3 separate regions of the Homo sapiens genome follow, and all the other regions are linked to region 1. Evidence: promoter capture Hi-C in 16 types of primary human blood cells and fetal thymus (Javierre and others, 2016). All regions are on one chromosome and are shown on one strand. Each heading gives the region's core, a stretch centred on a gene start or on the middle of the fragment in contact. The rest is flanking DNA. Distances are from core to core; before and after follow the strand shown. Region 1 holds the start of TMEM130 (transmembrane protein 130). Region 2 overlaps PSMC2 (proteasome 26S subunit, ATPase 2). Region 3 overlaps FBXL13 (F-box and leucine rich repeat protein 13).

What was found. The method cuts DNA at HindIII sites, captures the fragments that hold promoters and counts their contacts. A CHiCAGO score of 5 or more calls a contact.
Region 2: a fragment that was not itself captured here is called in contact with the fragment with the promoter of TMEM130 in region 1 in 1 of 17 cell types (total B cells); the score reaches 5.5 in total B cells.
Region 3: a fragment that was not itself captured here is called in contact with the fragment with the promoter of TMEM130 in region 1 in 1 of 17 cell types (total CD4 T cells); the score reaches 6.9 in total CD4 T cells.

What each region holds. Positions count from the first base shown.
Region 1 is chr7:98,867,869-98,871,771 of GRCh38, forward strand. TMEM130 (transmembrane protein 130) reads right to left here and starts at 2,146. Exons shown (of 8, transcript NM_152913.3): 1 at 1,909-2,146. The coding sequence starts at 1,993. RefSeq lists enhancers at 1,044-1,630, 1,631-2,216. The HindIII fragment of the contact is 4,583 bases long and covers 517-3,903 here.
Region 2 is chr7:103,353,637-103,357,539 of GRCh38, forward strand. PSMC2 (proteasome 26S subunit, ATPase 2) reads left to right here. Exons shown (of 12, transcript NM_002803.4): 2 at 285-322; 3 at 1,232-1,313; 4 at 2,058-2,157. It also overlaps a transcript of SLC26A5 not described here. Among named protein-coding and RNA genes, the nearest start is that of PSMC2, 7.9 kb to the left of the region's middle. The HindIII fragment of the contact is 280 bases long and covers 1,999-2,278 here.
Region 3 is chr7:103,065,079-103,068,981 of GRCh38, forward strand. The region is part of intron 1 of FBXL13 (F-box and leucine rich repeat protein 13); the gene reads right to left. Among named protein-coding and RNA genes, the nearest start is that of FBXL13, 7.8 kb to the right of the region's middle. RefSeq lists a silencer at 624-918. The HindIII fragment of the contact is 5,499 bases long and covers 1-3,903 here.

The sequences.
Region 1 (3,903 bases), core at 896-3,395:
ACCAGGAAGCCTTTGCCAAATGTGGCTGAAGGAACCAATCACAGGGCCTGGTGCTCTACCCACCAAATTCATCTTTCCAGGCCGGCGTGGTGGCTCACACCTGTAATCCCAGCACTTTGGGAGGCTGAGACAGGTGGATCACCTGAGGCCAGAGGTTCGAGACCAGCCTGGCCAACATGGCGAAGCCCTATCTCTACTAAAAATACAAAAATTAGCCAGGTGTGGTGGCAGGCGCCTGTAATCCCAGCTACTTGGGAGGCTGAGGCAGGAGAATTTCTTGAACCCAGAAGGTGGAGGTTGCAGTGAGCCAAGATTGTGCCACTGCACTCCAGCCTGGGTGACAGAGCAAGACTGCATCTCAAACAAACAAATTCATCTTTCCATGTTTGGGAGTCCATGTGACATGGAGTTGGGGTATGGAGCAGCCAAGGCAGAGGTTTAGGGGACTCCAAGGGCCCCCCAAGTCACCCAGAGCTCAAGGGGCAAAAGCAAAAAGAGATGGGGCACTCACCCCAAAGCTTGGCCCATGGAAGAAACACCTACCTTTTCCAGCAACACAGCATGTGCAGCCCTGAACATTCTAGAAAATGGCTACACCAGTCCTTTCACACAGAATATGCAGACTACCCAAAACACTTCCAAAGAGTACCTCTAAAGTCTGGATAACACAACCCAGAATTAATTAATAGTCCAGTACATGGACTTCTGACTTACAAATCCCTGATTCATGGACTCCAGAAAGGGGAAGGGTAGAAAAGTCTCCCCGACGGGTGAGGGAGAAGATGTTTCCCAACTCCACTCTTAGCCACTGTGATTTTGACCACATCAAGGGTGCAATTGGCTAGAATGGGAACCACACATGATTTCCAAATAATTAATTCACTTTTGTTATTATTTTCTTTTTCTTTTGCAATTTAGGACACATTGAAAATCTCTGACACAAATCAACCTGATGGACAAGAGACCCCTTTCCTGTATTTCCAGGAGGAAATAGGTAATCTTGTCCAAGTGCAATTCCCATAAAATTCGTCTAATTCATCCCTGAGTTGCAGGTTTTCTTTGACCTCATGGTTTTTCTTTCACAAATTTTCATTAGATCCCTTGCTCTCTCTCTCCACCGCTCTTTTATGAGGGGGGAGGGGGTGAAAAGTGGTGGATAGTATTCAACCTTCTTAGCTGCCCACGTCCCATCTGTCCCTCGAATAGTCTTAAATCTGGGTCCTTTTATGGTTCCCAAAATGTGGCAGAGAGGTGGGTGCTGGCTTTCTGGCGGTGGGGAAGTGGGGGCAGTAGACACACAACCCTGCTTCCCCCACTCCCCCACCCACACACACACCCCAGGAACCTGTCAGCTCCGGGTCCATTTTGGAAATCACCACCAGAGAGGAAATGGCAGCCTGGCCTCCTGGGCTCTAAATTCGCATCTCCCCAAAGCCAGCACCAACACGGTGGGAAACCCCTCTAGATGAGGCGACATTTTAAGGCAAAAACGTTGCCCATCCCGTGCTCCCTGGGGGACTGGGGAATTGTGGCGCGATGACGGACCCTGGCGCATCCCCGCCTCCCTGCCTCGTCCTCCCCTCCCTTAGCGGGTGCATGGTCCCCAGGCATCGACGGATGCGCCGGCCACCCCCGCGCGGTTTCCAGGGCAGGGCCAGCCTGGGGGGGTGGAAGCAGGAATCCAGGGGGTGCGGGGAGCCCCCTCCAGTGCCCAGGCGACTTTGGGGAACAAGGATGAAAGGAGAGGGGAAAGGGCGCTGCAGTGGCCTCAGCCGAGGAGGGAGATGCGCGCAGGGCGCACGGTGCCACCTCCGCAATCCCTGCTCCCGGGCCCACTCGCCCGCTGAGACGGTTCCAGGCCCCGGGCGGGCTGCGGCTGCAGGGAGGCCGGATTGCCCAGCGCCTTACCTGCGGCCACCCCTGCCGGGGCCCAGGGCAGGAGGCAGGCAAGCCAGAGGATGCGGCCGAGGCGCGACCACACTGCCTGGGCCATTGCGGGGCCCGGAGCGGGAGAAGCGTGGGGCGGACGCGGAGGGAATGCAGCTGGAGCTCGAGAACTGCGGCGGTCGCTCCTCCGGGCGCGCAGCGCGGGCGGTGCGGGGAGGTGCGGGCGCCGTGCTCGCTCGTCCTCGCCGGGGGACGCTCTGTCGCTGCGCGCCGCCGCCGCCGCCCACAGCCCGCTGCGCGACCCCGGCCCACGTCAGCCGCGCCGCGCGCCCTCCTCCTCCTCCCGCCGCCCCTTGCTCCCGCGTCCCTCTCCACGGCCGCGTCCTCCCTCTCCGGGTCTCTTCCCACGGCCGCGCCCCCTGCCCTCCTGGAGTCCACGATCGCCCCTCCCAGCTTGCTTCCCCTCTAGGGGTTCCAGAGCTCCCTTCCTGCGCCCTGGCTCCTCCCCGCATCCCTCCCCACCCCAAATCCACCCCCGGCCGCATCCTTCCCCTCCACTACCCGAAACCACGCCCCCCGCACCCGCATTTTTCCCTTCCCCCGAGCCCCTCCCCGCCCTGGATCCGATGCCGCCGGCTCTGACTCAGCGTCCCCAGGGGCGTGCGCTGCGCTGCAAGCCGCCTGCAGGTCCCTTGGGGCTCTCCTCCAGGTGCCTTCTCTCTGCACGCTCGTGGCTCCGAGATGCTACTCCTCATTCAAGAACTGTTGAGAGCTTAAGGTGCGCCAGGCGTTGGGCGAAAGGCCTCGAAATTCCTCTTGCTGCTGCTGCTGCTGCTGCTTCCTCTTTTCTTTTTTTTTTTTTTTTAATCTTGAGACAGAGTCTCGCTCTGTCCCAGAATGGCGCGATCTCGGCTCACTGCAACCTCCGCCTCCCGGGTTCAAGCGATTCTCCTGCCTCAGCCTCCCTAGTAAGATGGGATTACAGGTGCCCGCCACCAGGCCTGGCTAATTTTTGTATTTTTAGTAGAGACGGGGTTTCACCATGTTGGCCAGGTTGGTCTCAAACTCCTGGCCTCAAGTGATCCTCTCGCCTCAGCCTCCCAAAATGTTGGGATTACAGGTGTAAGCCACTGTGCCCAGCCTCTTGCCCCTTCTTGATAGAGGGGCCTGAGCACCCGGCCCCTGCCGTGGGCTTGATGTCATCCCCCGGTTTACCCTCTCACAGCTGCTGTTAAGATGGGGCTCCTGCTCGTATCTGGGCCCAGGGCAACTTCTTTGTCACTGAGGGCCTTGTGGGAGTCAGGCTACTGCGGTGAGGGGTGACCAGCCTACACAGTTACTGCCATTTGCCTTAGAGGAGCAGGGCTGGGCTCTCCTAGAAGCTGGAGGGGCCTGGCTGGCCTTAAACGCTGGAAGCCCGGTGGGTTCTGGTCCCAGCTATGCTTCCGCTTTGCTACGGCTACCTGGGCGAGGGATCCTCCCACACAGTGAGGGCCTTTGACCTCCTCTCTGGCCCGTGGAGCACGGATGGACCATCACTGCACCACCCAGTGCATTGACATCAAGGCGTCTAAAGCAGGGGTCTCCAAGCCCCTGGCCGCCAGTACCAGTCCATAGCCTGTTAGGAACTGGCTGCACAGCAGGAGGTGAGCAGGGCCTGTGAGCCACGCTGAGCTCCACCTCCTGGCAGATCAGCAGGGCATTAGATTCTCATAGGAGCGCAAACCCTACTGTGAACTGCTCACGTGAGGGATCAAGGTTGCGTGCTCCTTATGAGAATCTAATGCCTGATGTTCTGTCACTGTTTCCCATCATCCCCAGATGGGACCATCTAGTTGCAAGAAAGCAAGCTCAGGGCTCCCACTGATTCTACATGATGGTGAGTATGTAATCATAATAGAAATAAAGTATACAATAAAAGTAATGCGCTTGAATCATCCCGAAACCATCCCTCCAACCCCTCATTCGTGGAAACATTGTCTTTGGTGCCAAAAAGGTTGGGGACTACTGGTCTAA
Region 2 (3,903 bases), core at 889-3,388, 4.5 Mb after region 1:
TAATTTAACCAAGATCCTTAATGGATGTGTTTTATGTATGTACTATATAAAATAGGTCATCACGTATATTATGTACTTTTAAAAACCTATTTTCCTCCCAGTTAGATAAAAATTCCTTGAGTCCAGGAACTATTTGATTGAATATGTATCATCATAATCTTGCTTGATTTTTGACACTCACTTAAAACAATTTGAATCGAACAGAAAAAAAGCTCTAGTTTCTTTTTTAAAAATTTTAATTCTAGTTTCTTTTTGAATCTCACGTATTGTCTCTCTTCTTTCAGCTCTGGATGAGGGGGATATTGCCTTGTTGAAAACTTATGTAAGTCCTTTCAGTGTCTACAAACTATAGATGTTTTATGTTGAAATAAAAACTGTTTTGGTATTGTCCTTCCAAAATAATTAGAAGAAGTTAAGAAACCAAAAATTAAAAAACCAAACAAAAAATAAAATAAAAAGAAACAATTAGAAAAGAATGTCTGGCAGCTTCTAGTAATCTTCACTAAATGAAGTTACCTACCTAAAGTTTATAGAATAGATCAAAGTATTTGGCATGTCTCAGTTTATGTATTATTTTAATACTATTCGTGATTAAAATGTGATGCTATATTGAAAGATATTTGAAATCATTTACACAAGTTTACTATATTTAACAAGTATTACTGAATTAGTTCTGAAATGAAGTTTTAATGCATAGAAATCGATAGTTTTGCATAATTTCACACACGATTTTTTTTTTTTTTTTTTTTGAAACGGAGTGTTGCTCTTGTCACCCAGGCTGGAGTGCAATGGCGCGATCTTGGTTCACTGCAACCTCCGCCTCCTGGGTTCAAGCGATTCTCCTGCCTCAGCCTCCTGAGTAGCTGGGATTATGAGCGCCCACCACCACGTCTGGCTAATTTTTTGTATTTTTGGTAGAGACAGGGTTTCATCATGTTGGCCAGGCTGGTCTTGAATTATTGACCTCAGGTGATCCACCCGCCTCCGCCCCCTAAAGTGCAGGGATTATAGGCATGAGCCACCATGCCTGGCCATGATTTTCATTTGTTATCTTGCATAATAGTGGATTGTGTATTTAGGGGGAAATATTGGGTCAGGAATACCTCTCTACTTCACAAGCTTTGGGATAATGATAGCTATTGAAATTGTAACTTAAAAATAATTTTTACCTGTAGTTTTAATAAATGGTTGATATCCTGATATTCTAACTAAACTGACCTTCATCACCTAGGGTCAGAGCACTTACTCTAGGCAGATCAAGCAAGTTGAAGATGACATTCAGCAACTTCTCAAGAAAATTAATGAGCTCACTGGTATGTATTTTTAAATTCCCATTTCCTTCCTTTAAATGTAATGTGTGAATAATATCAAGAGTTTAAATACAGATTTTACTCCTTCATGATTACAGATTTAAAAAAAATCATTATTCTTCCTTTCTGTTAAGAAATTAGATCTCATTTAACCATATCTTTCACTGCTTTTTACAACCAGGTTTAATGCTTATGCAGTTAAGAAATAAGAAATAGTACCATCTTCTAAGCCAGTAATATTTCTGTTGGTCAAAACCCAGTTCAGTAAACTTCAGTTAACAAGTCAAAAAACTTTTTTGGATAAAAATAAGATCTCACAACATAGTTTTGCTTCAAGTAATTGGGCTCTTTCCTGGAACTTTTTGGGGGGAACTTGAATGATGAAGTTTTATAATATTTGACCTACACAAAAATGTCAAATGTGGCATTATATTTTTGGCTTGACAATTACTTTAGGGCAGGGTGTAGTTTTCAGCTGGGGTGATTTTGCCCCACCCTCCCAACCCCTCCCAGAGGACACTGGGCAATGTCTGGAGACATCCTTGATTGTCATGACTTTGAGAGAGGGTGGTGCTGCTGGCGTCTAGTGGTGAGAGGCCAGGGATGCTACTAAACAGTCTATAATGCACATGATAGTCCTCACAATGAATGATTCAGTGCAAAATATCAGTAGTGCTGAGGTTTAGAAAGCTTATTATAGGGTGATGCATTACATTTTAGTAAATTTTGTCATCTTTCTCTATGTAGGTATTAAAGAATCTGACACTGGCCTGGCCCCACCAGCACTCTGGGATTTGGCTGCAGATAAGCAGACACTCCAGAGTGAACAGCCTTTACAGGTTGCCAGGTATGCACGGGTGCTCTGTGGCAACTTACCTTTGTCTGTATTTTCAAGCACTTAATGTTAGAGTCTCAGGGATAATGCAATAGTTCATAAATAATTTTGATTCCAAATTCCAAGTAAATAAAGCTTTCTACAAAACTGGGGTTAAAATTTTATGCCTTAAACAATTCTTCAAAAATATATGAAGGCATAATCATTTAAAAGATTTAAATGATATAAAAAGATGTAGAGCAAGAAATGAAAAACTCCCTTCTCATACTTGCTTTCCCGTTGCCCTTTCCTCAAACGTAACTACTGAAATAGTTTGGCCCTCGTAATCCTCTGTGTATCTTCCTGTATTTGCATGCAAAGAAACATATCCTGATTTTTTTTTTTTTAGATATAACTACATGTTTTGGGAATCTTTGTCTTTAATATAGGTATACTTATTTCTTTTTTCTTGTGTTTTTAAAAAATTGCAAAAATTGCATAATGTGTAGATGTTAGGCTGTAACAATTTCTGTTACTATACACAGTGCTGTAGTGAATATTCGTGTTAAATGTTTCTCAGTGTATGTGCATACATTTCTGTAGGCTAGCTTACTACAAGTGGAATTCTAGGGGTCAAAGATATTATAGTTTTAAAATCCTGTGAAAATTACTTTGGCCAGTTTATACTTTTACCAAGAGGCTTTGAGGCAAATGTCCATTTGTCTGATCAATGTAAGATACGCAGTTTTCAATTTTTACACTTTTGCCATTTGAGGGAAAATAATTTTAATTTGTACTGTGTTGATTACTAGTATGATAGCTACTTCTTTTGTTTACTAAACATCTGTATTTCTTTGACTACTCATGTTTTGTTCTTGGGTTGTTTCTTGTTAATTTTAGAAACAGTTCATATATTGTACATATTGTCTTTTCTTAAGTATGCTACAAGTATTTTTCCCTAGTCACTTTTAACTTCTTGGTACCTTTTGTTGTACTAATGTTTTACATTTTTAGGAGATAAAATATACCAATATTTCCATTATACCTTTTGGGTGTTAATGTTGCTTAGAAAAACCTAGCCCAATTCAAGGCTATAAACATATTCTCCTCTGTTTATAATCCTTTTAAAAATTTTGTTTTTATTTTTAGTTCCTAAAAGCTAAAGATTATTTTTATTTCCCATCTACTCACCCTCCCTACTTCACAATTTCCATCTTTTCTCACTTTTATTTATTCACTCACTTTTTAGTTTTATCATGGTTTTTGAAGGGTTAAATAGTTCAGGCTGGGCACGGCAGCTCACGCCTGTAATCCCAGCACTTTGGGAGGCCCAGGCAGGCAGATGACTTGAGGTCAGGAGTTCAAGACCAGCCTGGTCAACATAGTGAAACCCCGTCTCTACTAAAAATACAAAAATTAACTGGGTGTGGTGGCGGGCGCTTGTAATCCCAGCTACTGGAGAGGCTGAGGCAGGAGAATCGCTTGAACCTGGGAGGCAGAGGTTGCAGTAAGCTGAGATTGTGCCACTGCACTTCAGCCTGGGGTGACAGAGTGATACTCTGTCTCAAAAAAAAAAAAAAAAGAAAAGAGTTAAACAGTTAAATAATAACAACTGTATTTCCCAATTTCTCTTCCCTAATGACACTCATTTTCACCTTTTTTAGCTGATTATTTTGGTTTTCGTCTTCATGGTTCTAATGGATATTGCTATATCTTGTGTATTATAGATTCCTACTTCTTGATTTTTTAGTTTTAGGTATTATCTTTTGGCTTTCCATC
Region 3 (3,903 bases), core at 399-2,898, 4.2 Mb after region 1:
GCAATAGATAATTGACACACCAAACAAACAGAAAATGACTACACAGCCAAATCAAATCTGTCATTCCATCCATCCCTAGCAACATACATTCTGAAAAAAAAAGCCTAGCCATAACTATCTTTCATTTTAGATTTTTAAATTTCAAACATTTAGAAACAGTAGTATAGGGAACACTTATGTACCTATCACCCAGTTTCAACAATAATTATTCTGTGATTTTTGTATCATCTATATATCTACCCATTTCTACCTATTCTCAATTATAATTTAAGGTAAAATTTATATTATTTCAAATGCATAAATCTTATTAGTATAATTTTGATAATGAAAATACCCACACCCCGGGTGTGGTTTCTTTCCAACTCTCCGGAAAGTTCTCATGTCCCTCTCCAGTTAATCCTCCTGTATCACTCAGAGTCCAGTCAAGAGACAGAAATCACACCCGTGTTTTGAATAAAGAACAATTTATTCTATCTCATAAAGAGATTCTAATAAAGAATGCAATTCAAAGAATTACTAACTAGTAAAAAGAGAGTAACTACTAAGAGCAAAAGAGAACACTAAAGGACACCCTGTGGCTCAGACAGAGTACCCAAAGATGAAATAACCTTGGAAGGAGGGCAGCCACCTCCCCAAGGCTGAGATTCAGAGAATGTGGAGTGTGGCTGAGGTATAGTGGGGAAGTCCATTAGGTTGCCCTGAGACAGAGATAGTTCTCAGCCATGATGGTCCAAGGCTTGGTGAACAGGACCCCACCAGCTCACACTAGTGAGCAGACGCCCCCTGCTGGGGTGCCAATGGGCTGAGGCTGGTGAGCAAAACTTGCTGAAGAGTGGGCACCACTGGGTGCACCACACACATGCTCCTGGAAGCTGTGTCATGTGAACAAGAAGTGAGGAAGCACACAGGAACCAGGAACTGAAGTCCCTCTCCCTCCAGGGTCCCTCCAGCACTGACAAGGCTTAACAACATGCTAGCCCAAAGCAATGCCAAGGTCTAGATCATGACACCAGTCCAGCTTCTAGGTGTCAAGGGCTACTTTTCTCCTCCTCAATATTTCTGCAGTATTATAATCAGCTGTCTAGTTTTATGGGGAAAAAAATTTTAGACTTTAACTAAAATTGCATTGAATTTATACATTTTCTGGGAAGACATTACATGTTGTTATTTTCCCATTCATAAACACAGCAGAGTACTTCATTTCTTTAGGTCACCTTAAACATCTTTCAATAAAATTTTACAAATTCCTCCAAACAGGTCTTTCACATCTTGTCCTAAGAAACCTTATATTTTTTGTGGCTATTATGAATGTAATTTCTTTTTTTTTTTTTGAGACAGAGTCTTACTCTGTTGCCCAGGCTGGAATGTAGCGGTGCGATCTCGGCTCACTGCAAGCTCTGCCTCCCGGGTTCACACCATTCTCCTGCCTCAGCCTCCTGAGCAGCTGGGACTACAGGCGCCCGCCATCACGCCCAGCTAATTTTTTTTGTATTTTTAGTAGAGACGAGGTTTTACCTTGTTAGCCAGGATGGTGTCAAGCTCCTGACCTCATGATCCACCCGCCTCAGCCTCCCAAAGCGCTGGGATTACAGGCGTGAGCCACTGCGCCCAGCCTATGAATGTAATTTTTAAAAGCTACTGTTTAAAACTTTGGTTCTAGTGAATTGAAATGCAATTGATTTTTTAATATTCAGTGGAAGAATTTTGTGAGGATTTTTTTTTTTTTTTTTGAGATGGAGTTTCGCTCTCATTGCCCAGGCTGGAGTGCAATGGCGTGATCGCAGCTCACCGCAACCTTCGCCTCCTGGGTTCAAGAGACTCCCCTGCCTCAGCCACTCGAGTAGCTGGGATTAAAGGCATGCGCCACCACGCCCAGCTAATTTTGTATTTTTAGTGATCTTTCTCCATGTTGGTCAGGCTGGTCTTGAACTCCAAACCTCAGGTGATCTGCCCGCCTCGGCCTCCCAAGAATTTTTTTTTTTTTGTCTACTCTTTCACTGTGGGTGTAATGGAATTGTCAGAAACTGAAAATACTAGGAAATGTAGGACTATGGATATTGAGAGCCCATTTGACAACTGAGGATTGAATTTAAAGTGACACAATTCAGTTTAATTGTGTGTTCTTCCTTTAAATAATGTTCAGTTGCTCAGGGGTAAGCACGGACTGCTGGATATTTGAGTTTTACCAGGGATGGGTGTTTGTCACATCAATAGGACAGAGGGAGAAACAGGTAAAGGAGATAATCGTATTTGAAAGTGATCATAATGATGGTGTGGTGGCATTTTAAAAGCATGTCTGCAAATGATATTTCTTACATAAAGAGGTGGGGTTTAATTCCTCTCCTCTTGAATATGGATTAGTCTTAATAATCCACTTGTAATGAAGAGAATACAGTGAAAGTGATGTTGAGTAACTTCTGGGGCTAGGTTATAAAAGGAGATTTTACTTGGCTCTGTCTCTTGGACACCTGTTTTGGGACCCAGCCTCCACGCTGTGAGGAAGCTCAAGCTACATGGAGATGTTACACATAGATGTTCTACCTGTCAGTCTCAGGAGAGGTCCTCATCGACAGCCAGCATCAACTGCCAGGCATGTAGGTAAGGAAGCCTTCAAGATGATTTTAACCTCAGCCACTCTGACATGTAAGTGCATGAGGGATCTCAAGCAATAATATTCTGTCAACTCCCATAACTGTGAGAGGCAATAATAAAATGAATACTGTTATTTTAAATCACTAAATGTTGTAAAGACATTTAGGTAATAGACATCCACAATAATGATGAACCAAGGAATCTAAGATGGGTAAAGAGAGAAATAAGGACATAAGAGTAATATTTGACAGTGCAAAGATAATTGAATGAAATGGTGGTTTGAGTCAGTTGAAGAAGTGCTAGTGTAGAAGCTCCAATGTGAGTGAGCTAAGAAATTAAGAGATAAGTGGATGAAGAAATGGAGATTTCAGAGATGGTACAGCAATTTAGGATAAAATGGTTAAGAGTATGACCATAGAAGGACATGACTGAGGAACGGTGAAAGCAAAGATAACTGGAAGAAAGGTCAAGGATGTGAACGGAACATCCCTGTGAATACTGCGGGCACAAGAACAATGACAGGAGTAGAGAAAAAGGAAGATGGTGAGCCAGATGCTAATGCTACCAACAAAACATAGAGATTGGTACATAATGAAGACAGTGAGTGCTAAATCTGATGTTATGAACTACAAAGAAGCTGAGACTTTAGAAAAAGGAGGGAAGATACATAGTTTGGAAGTGGAAATGGGGAGCCAAGGAAGACACCTAACCTATCTCTAGATCTGAGGTAAACTGAGGAGTGAAACAAGACAGTCTCCCTAGGATTTCATATCTGAGTAGGATGTGGAAAGTCACCATGGTCCAATGACCCTGCTACAACAACTAGAAAAAAACAGACACATTACAAAAATCACATTTAAAAAAGATATTGGCGAGCCATGGAATTCCAGGGGAAGGAAATTTTTCTGAAGTGAGCTGACAATGCACAGCTGCTTTTTTTCCCTGGGAACGTGTGCCAGCTCTGGGTAGGAAAGAGGACAGGGCTGGGCCCAGGCAGAGAAAGTCTACAAATGGGAAGAGAAACCAATAGGCTTATGGTGGTGGCACGGGGGTAACATGACAGGTTAGAAACTTGAGGTGCCCCAAGTGTGGCCACTGTCTCCCATAAGGCAGTGAGTTCTGGGAGTGTTCACACAGGAGGCTGAGGAGCTAGAACATCAACTCCTACAAGGCAGAGTGAGTCTTTCATAATCTCAGGGAAGGAAGAGGAAGCCTGCCTCAAACATACAGCCAGCATAACCTTCAATGTACTTGCCAGATTTTAAAGTTGAGGGCCCACGGCCACCACGCCATCTGGGAAGTAAGGAGCAC